3 separate regions of the Homo sapiens genome follow, and regions 1 and 3 are each linked to region 2. The links are contacts of gene promoters, found by promoter capture Hi-C in human tissues and cell types (Jung and others, 2019). All regions are on one chromosome and are shown on one strand. Each heading gives the region's core, a stretch centred on a gene start or on the middle of the fragment in contact. The rest is flanking DNA. Distances are from core to core; before and after follow the strand shown. Region 1 overlaps GAB2 (GRB2 associated binding protein 2). Region 2 holds the start of NARS2 (asparaginyl-tRNA synthetase 2, mitochondrial). Region 3 overlaps GAB2 (GRB2 associated binding protein 2).

Region 1 (2,723 bases), core at 38-2,537, 260 kb before region 2:
ACAGGCTGGACACAGACTGTAGAAAAGCTTTCAAAGAGTTTCAGAAGAGACAGCAAACTGAAGGAGCTAATTGAGAGAGTAAGAGAAGGAAGGAGAGTAAAAGGGCAGGGGGGAGGAGGTCTCTGAGTGAATTATAAACACACTTCAAAGTTCTGCTCACGGCTGGCTGTCTATCCCAATCTTATTTTATTTTGTTTTGCTTTTCCTCTCAGTCTATTCCCCTCTTCTTCTCGCATTATTTCAAAATGGCTTTCCCCCCTTTTTAATGTCTTTGAACTGCCAAGGATAGCAAGAAGCCTGCTTTTAGGGGATCCTCAGGAATATTTCACCTTCTGTTTTCTCATCTATAAGGTAATTATAACACATCCTAGGACTATCACACAAATACAAAAGAAATAACAGAACTTTTCAGCAAATGGTGCTGGGAAAACTGGATATCCACATGTAAAAAAACAGCTGGACCCTTATACCATATACAAAAATTAACTCAAAATGGACCAAAGACCTAAATATAAGAATGAAAATGATAAACCTCTCAGAAGAAAACATAGAAAAAATGTTTCATGACAATGGATTTGACAATGTTTTCTTGGATGTGACACCAAAGGTATAGGTAGCAAAACAAAAAATAGATAAATTGGACATCAAAATTAAAACTTTAGTGAATCAAAGGACACAATCAACCAAGTGAAAAGACAATCCACTGAATGGAAGAAAATATTTGCAAATCATATATCTGGTAAAGGATTTGTGATGGTTAATATTAGGTGTCAACTTGATTGGATTGAAGGATGCCTAGATGGCTGGCGAAGTACTGTTTCTGGGTTTATCTGTGAAGGTGCTGCCAGAGGAGGTTGACATTTGAGTCAGTGTACTGAGAAAGGAAGAGTCACCCTTAATATGGTTGGGCACCATCCTACTGCCTGTCAGCATGGCCAGAAGAAAGCAAGCGGAAGAAGGTGGAATAAGCTTGCTTGCTGAGGCTTCTGGCTTCCTTCTCCCCACTCCCCCTCCCCCTGCCATATTGGATGCTTCCTCCCGCTCCTCCTGCCCTTGGACATCAGACTTCAGGTTCTTTGGCCTGACACTGGGACTTGCACGGGGGGCCAGGGGGTGGGTGTCCTGCCTTTGGGACTGACTTAAAGGCTGCACTGTTGTTTTCCCTGGTTTTGAGGCTTTCAGACCCAAACTGAGCCACTACCGGCTTCTCTCTTCCCCAGCTTCCAGATGGCCTATTGTGGGACTTTGCATTATAACTGTGTGAGCCAATTCTTTACTTTCATAATATACATATTATGAAATATGTATAAACTCCCTTTCATATATACATATTATTAGTTCTGTCCCTCTGGAGAACACTGACTAGTACAGGATTATAAGGGGTTAATAACTAGAATATATAAAGAACTACAATAACAACAAAAACAAACAACTTAACTAAAAATTGACAAAGGACTTGAATAGACATCTCTCCAAAGAAGGGATACAAAATGACCAAGAAGCACATGAAAAGATGCTCATGTCACTAATCATTGGGGAAATGCAAATCAAAACAATGAAATACTACCTTGCACCTATTAATATGGCTACTTTAAAAAATAGAAATAAGTGTTGGTGAGAATATGGAGAAACTGGAACCCTTGTGCAATGTTGGTGGGGATATAAAATAGTGCAGCTGCTATAGAAGAGAGTAAGGCAATTCCTCAAAAAATTGAAAATAGAATTACCATATGATCCAGTAATTCTACTTTTGGATACAGACCCCAAAAAACTGAAAGCAGGAACACAAACGGAATATTTTTACACCTATGTTCATTGCAGCATTAGTCAGAAGAGCCAAAAGGTGGAAGCTACCCACATGTCACTGGTGGATGAATGGAGATATAAAACACAGTACATGCATACAATGGAATACTATTCAGCCTTAAAAAGGAAGGAAATTCTGACACATGCTACAGCAGGGATGAACCTTAAGGGCATTAAGCTAAGTGAAATAAGCAGTTAGAAAATACCATGTGATTCCACTTATATGACAAAGTTACATGGCAAGCCTAGAGTAGCCAGATTCAGAGAGACAAAAAATACAACAGTGGTTATTAGGCCACCGGAGGAATAGGGCATCAATGTCTAATGGGTATAGTTTCAGTTTGGGAAGCTGAAAGGAGTTTTGGAGATGGATGGTGGTAATGGCTGCACAGCAATATGAATGCATTTAATGTCACTGAACTATACACTTAAAAGTGATTACGATGGGCCGGGCACAGTGGCTCACGCCTGTAATCCCAGCACTTTGGGAGCCAAGGTGGACAGATCGTAAGTTAAGAGATTGAGACCATTCTGGCCAACATGGTGATACCCCATCTCTACTAAAAATACAAAAATTAGCTGGGTGTGGTGGCGGGCAGCTGTAGTCCCAGCCACTCGGGAGGCTGAATCGGGATAATCGCTTGAACCTGGGAGGCGGAGGTTGCAGTGAGCTGAGATGGCGCCACTGCACTCCAGCCTGGCAACAGTGCGAGACTCCGTCTCAAAAAAAAAAAAAAAAAAAAAAAGATGATTATGATGGTAAACTTTATGTTATGTGTATTTTATCACAATCAAAAGAAGAAATAATTTTTTTAAAAAGTAACATATATTAAGCATTCAGCAAAGAACTTGGCAACGAATCTTTGCTCCTTCCTTTCCTCCTGATGCAATCTTTTGTTTCAAGGTTCTTTTTAAGT
Region 2 (2,700 bases), core at 118-2,617:
CTGCGCTCCAGTCTGGGTGACAGAGCTAGACCCTGTCTCAAAAAATAAATAACCACATCAGTGTACTTCAGCAACCTAATAAGAAACAGTCAAACACCTTGTTTATTCTGCACCTCTTCTATGTGGAGCTGCTGCAAATAATATAATCAGCAAGAGAAACAATAGCAGCTAACATTTGTAGACTATGAGCCACTGTTCTAAATATCTTACTTCCATTACCTCATTTAATTTTCAGGACTCAGGGACAATTATTATCTCTTTCCATAAGAGGAAAATAAGGTGTAGAACGCATAAACGCTATGCAGAGATTTAAACCTAAGCAGCTTAACTCCAGAGCTCTTTCAAACTGCTACATTCCAGTCTTTCTCCGAATTCATTAAAAATAAATTACATGCAGACCCCCACAATAGGCACTGAGGTCGCTAAAAGTTTAAAAGGCATGGTTTGAACAAGTATTTGCTGTCAGCCATGTGTGAATACAAAGGCAGGTAAGACACGGTTTCTGCTCTCAAGGAGGGAGGTCAAGACAACCACTTTATAAACCTGGATATTCATTATAAGGGATAAAGATAGAGAAAGGGGGCTTGTTCATTTACACTTTTGGTATGATTAACAAGTTTACAGGTAATACCCTGGAATCATGAAAGCAAAGTTCCAGCGCTTTACAGTTATCGGAACAGTTTTGTGAAAAGTAATGGAAATCAGAAAAGTGCAAACCCGCGACGCCTACACTTTCTAACTTTTCCCTGCTGGCGGTTGTGTCTGACCCGACTGTAAAAGAAAAGCTAGATGTGGATGTGCCATATAAAAGTCCCTACAAGAAAAAACCCACTCCCTTCCCATTCACCAACCTGGATCTTAATGCGCTCCCCACTCGCGTTCTGAGCCCCGAGAGCGTCCCGCACGCTCAGTTTGGCTGAAGGTTTGTGCTTGGGGAAGGGGGCGGAGGAACAGAAGCGCACGGACCGCAGCAGGCAGCGGACCCCCAGCATCCCGCGTCCGCCCAGGCCCTCCGCGGGAGCAGCCCAGACCCCACGGTTCGAACCCCGCCTGCAGCGGCCCTCCTTTCTCAGCTGCTCCCCTTCCGCGGCCGCAGCTCTGCTCTAAGGCACTCCAGAGCCCCTCGGCTGCGCGCTTTCTCCTTCAGGACTCCCAGCTCTGTCCCCACAGAACCTCTCCGCTTCCCACTTCCCAACGGGGCGGAATGGACAGGACACTAGGCAAACGCCAGAAAGAAACCACGTGCAGTTGGCAGCTGGGGCGCCCCACTACCCGCGACAATTGTAAACCTACGAACAGAACCCGGGCCGCAACACGCGCAACCACTCCTACCACACCACGCCAACGCCGCTTACGTCATCACGCTACGGGGAAGAAGGGAGAGCATGCGTACTTGTGACCCAGGCTTAGGGAGGCGTGCGGGAGGGGGCGGGGTCAGGAGCCGAGACGGGGCGGAGCTAATGCCCTAAGGTTGTAGAGATTATCGCTGAAAGAACGTGGGAGCACATCTGAGGGTCTTCATTTCTAAAGTTTCCAGGTGAGGCTGAGAAACTGAGAGGCAAGGAGTGACTGATGGAGAGGGAAACCGTCTCCATCAGTCAACAATAGGGATCCAAGTAAGAGGAGGCTCTTAGCTGTTAACAGGATTCGCTTGAAGAGATCAGTCGTTCCTTTCCTGAGTACTCCGCAGAGAAAAATCAGACATAGCCCCAATGCGCAAGTCACAGTTGTGTGGTATCAGACAGCTAAACAGACAGTTGCATAAAAGGGCGATCAGTTTGCCTGACAGAGCCTAAGCGTGGGACGCCAGAGATGGCTTCCTGGAGAAAGTAGTCCTCTGACAGGTAAATAAAAGGAACTGGAGGGACCTTGCATATGGCAGGCAAGACGGTGGGAAGATGTTGCAGAGACTGGAGGAAACTCGAGTGTTTCCTGCCAGAATCCTCCAAGTCTCCCTCTTCCCTCTGCCCTCCAACACAGCTATCTGCATTTGTTTGACCTGGAAACAATGACCCTTTTATATATTAGGCTACGTTTTATTAAAAAAAAAATTCTGTAACTCAATGACGGTCATTAAAAGGTTTTTAATCTAATTTAAAAAGTAAAACGTTTGGCCAAGTGCGGTGGCTCACGCCTGTAATCCCAACTCTTAGGGAGGCAGAAGCAGGAGGATTGCTTCAGCCCAGGAGTTCAAGACCAGCGCTCGCCCTCGCTGTCTCTCTCCCGCTCCCTCTCACTCTCACTCTCTCTCTCTCACTTTTACCTTACTTAAAGTTGCTACTATTATTATACCCATTTTACAAATGAGAGAACTTACGCACAGAAAGGCTAGATGACCTACTTAAGGATACACATTCCCTAAGTGTGAGATTTAAACCCAGAAGTGCTGGCTCTATGCACTTAAGCAGTATGCTGTATTACATAGTGTCCCAAGGTGATCTGTTCCATCAAGGAGCTCATGCTTTAGAGATGGAGACAAGCAAGAAAAGAGACTACTGAAATATAAACCAGTAAGTGCACACATAGATGTATGAGTTGTCTGCATTTGTTTGGACTGAAAAGTCACCCTTATATATTAGGCTACCTCTTAAATTTATCCAAAAAATTATTTTTGATATTTTATCCAAATATTATATTGGATAAAATATAATACAATTATAATATATACATGTATCACAATTTTATATTTTATATAATATA
Region 3 (2,700 bases), core at 169-2,668, 290 kb before region 2:
TCATCTATATGAAAATCACTACCACCACCACCATTTTCCCTACCTACCCCATAGGGTTATTATGTGAGCCCAAAGCACTTTGTATACACCCTGAAGCACTACAAATGTCAAGGATTTGATTATCACAATTCTTTAGACCCCATGGGATCTACACTCCATTAATTCTACCATCTTTTCACTCTCACCTTTCATCCCTGTCCTCTTTTCTTTCCTTATCCAACTCTATTTCTGCGATCCATTATCATAATTATTCCCTTGCTTCTTTCTCCATTCCTCTTATTTACCCAGCAAACCCCAGCTAAGTCTAATGCTCTGCCAACTCTACCTGTTCCCACTTGGCTGTACATACATGGAGAAAATCATATGACCATGCTGACTGGTCTCACTTTTACTTCAAGTGGCCCCTCATGTTGCCCAACAATCCTACTATATTTACCTAGTCAATGACTTTCTCCTGTTCTTTGGCAACAATCTCTTGGCCTCTCTCTTTAAACCTCCAATGCCTCCACTCTTTTATATCTTATTTCATGAGAAAACACAAACAATCAAAAGAAAATTTACACATGTTCCATGACTACATTTACCATCCTGCCTGCACCTGTAGCTGTGAGCTCTGTTACTAGGGAGCATAGACAGTCCACCCAATGAAGGCCAACCTTTTTCCATTTGTGCACAAAGACATCACTTCAACAATTCTCCCCTTCTTCAGAATCGTTGCATTTTTCCTCCTGACTAGGATGATTCCCATCAAGACATCAACGTTTCCTATCTCAGAAGAAAAAATTAAAAGTTTGACTTGATCCCACAATTCTTCACCAACTATGGCCCAGTTTTTCTACTTCTCTTTATAGTGATACTTCAAAGAGTATTATATACTACTAATCTTTGTTTCCTCCCCTCCTATTCGAAGGCACTATAATCAGGCTATCCCCCATCCCCCCACCACCCCAACTGCACCACTGAAATAGCTCATCAAAGGTGTCAAAGACTTCAGTGCTGATAAATCAACTCATGGGCCTTAACTTGATCTCTCTTGATCTCTCTCCAACATCTGACAACAGTTTATTATTCCATCCTCTTTGAAACACTTTCTTCACCTGGCTTCAGCATGCACTCTCAACTCTCCTTCTATCTACCGGGCCTCTCTTTTTCAGTCTCCAGTGCTGGCTCCTCTTCACCTCCCTGACATCCGAACATTAGAATGCCCCAATGCTCAGTTCTGAGATTCTTTTTTTTTTTTCTACACCCACTCTCTAGGTCATTTTATTCAGTTTCACAGCTTTAAAAAACCATCGAATTGCTGTGATTCCCAAATTTATATCTCTAGCCCTAGAGTTGTATATCCAACTCCTCACTAGTAGGTATCTCAACATTAATGTGTTCAAAACTGAGGTCCTGATATCTCCCAGATCTGTTCTTCCTGCACTCTCTCCCATCTCATTTACCAGCACCTTCAGCCTTCCAGTTGTCAGACCAAAAATCTATGTATCATAGCTGACTCCTTTCATACTCTACATCTAACCCAAAAGCAAATCCTGTCAGTTCAGACAGTTCAGAATATATCAACAATGAGCTTGCTTCTCCTCACCTCCACTGTTGCTCACCTGGTCTAGTCCACCATTTTGTAGTCTTCCTGCTTCCACCCTTTCATCCTGCAGTCTATCCTCAACCGCAAAGTAAGAAAGCAGGAAGTAAATCAGAAGATGCCACTTCTCCGCTCACCATCTGCAATGGCTGTTCATCTCACTCAGAGTAAAGCCAAAGTCCCCACAATGGCCTACAGGCCTGATGGGACTGAGCCTCATCCCACCCCTCACCTCAGCTCCTGCTGCCCTCTGCCTTGCCTATTCTGCTCTGGCCACGTGGCCTTACACAGTGCCAGGCGTGCTCCTGCCTCACGGTCTTTAGTCTAGTTGTTTCCTGGCCCTGGAACACTCCTCCCCCAGATATTTCCATTGCTTAATCTTTTTTTCTAGTCCTTATTCAAATGTCACATTACTGGACAGGCTATTCCTGGTCCCCGATGCTCCCACTCTCTTTCCCCCCTTACCCTGCTTTACTGGTCTCACAAAGCATGTATACCCCCAAAAGATATCAATTTTTATGACTTTTCCGCACCCACCTCCCAGAAAGTAAACTCCTCCAGGACAAGGATTGGTTCTTTTTATTCCATGATGCATCCTTGGTGTTTAGAATATTGCCTGGCACATAGCTAGTAATCAATATATATATAATTAATGAATCATTTTCTTGCATGAAATCCTTCTATTATCTAGCAGGTCAAAGGAGACATAACTGGTGCCCAATAAGCCTTAGACTGAAATGAAAATTGAGGTATAGCCAGATAGGATGGAGCTGAGAAAAATAAAAATAAGTACTATTTATTTATAGTAATTTAAAATCTTAACCCGGTCACTGCTTTCAGAATTATGCATGTACTTCTGTGTGCTGCAGGTTCACACATAGACACATAGTGTGTGGGCACCAAGGTGCATTTTAAAAAGATCTGTTTCTAGTTCAGCTGGCATTTCAGTTGATGTGTCCCCGTTAGTCTTGTCTCTGTGGAAAGAGCTGTCCCCAAATCTCTGGTATGCAGGTGCAAGCACAAAAAACACAGACACCCTCATGAACAAGAAAACCATGTTTGCTACAGATAATATCAGAGCCTGTCAGGTTTTGCTTCCAAGTAAGTGGTGTAGG

What was found. The method cuts DNA at HindIII sites, captures the fragments that hold promoters and counts their contacts. A contact is called where the count stands out against the background at its distance.
Region 1: a contact is called between a fragment that was not itself captured here and the fragment with the promoter of NARS2 in region 2, in 1 of the 25 tissues and cell types used here (aorta).
Region 3: a fragment that was not itself captured here is called in contact with the fragment with the promoter of NARS2 in region 2 in 1 of the 25 tissues and cell types used here (heart left ventricle).

What each region holds. Positions count from the first base shown.
Region 1 is chr11:78,315,030-78,317,752 of GRCh38, forward strand. All of the region lies in intron 1 of GAB2 (GRB2 associated binding protein 2), which reads right to left. All of the region lies in intron 2 of LOC105369402 (a long non-coding RNA gene), which reads left to right. Among named protein-coding and RNA genes, the nearest start is that of GAB2, 100 kb to the right of the region's middle. The HindIII fragment of the contact is 3,914 bases long and covers 1-2,723 here.
Region 2 is chr11:78,573,497-78,576,196 of GRCh38, forward strand. NARS2 (asparaginyl-tRNA synthetase 2, mitochondrial) reads right to left here and starts at 1,368. Exons shown (of 14, transcript NM_024678.6): 1 at 852-1,368. The coding sequence starts at 992. RefSeq lists enhancers at 754-863, 1,524-1,663. The HindIII fragment of the contact is 12,241 bases long and covers 1-2,700 here.
Region 3 is chr11:78,282,657-78,285,356 of GRCh38, forward strand. The region is part of intron 1 of GAB2 (GRB2 associated binding protein 2); the gene reads right to left. Among named protein-coding and RNA genes, the nearest start is that of USP35, 95 kb to the left of the region's middle. The HindIII fragment of the contact is 4,493 bases long and covers 1-2,700 here.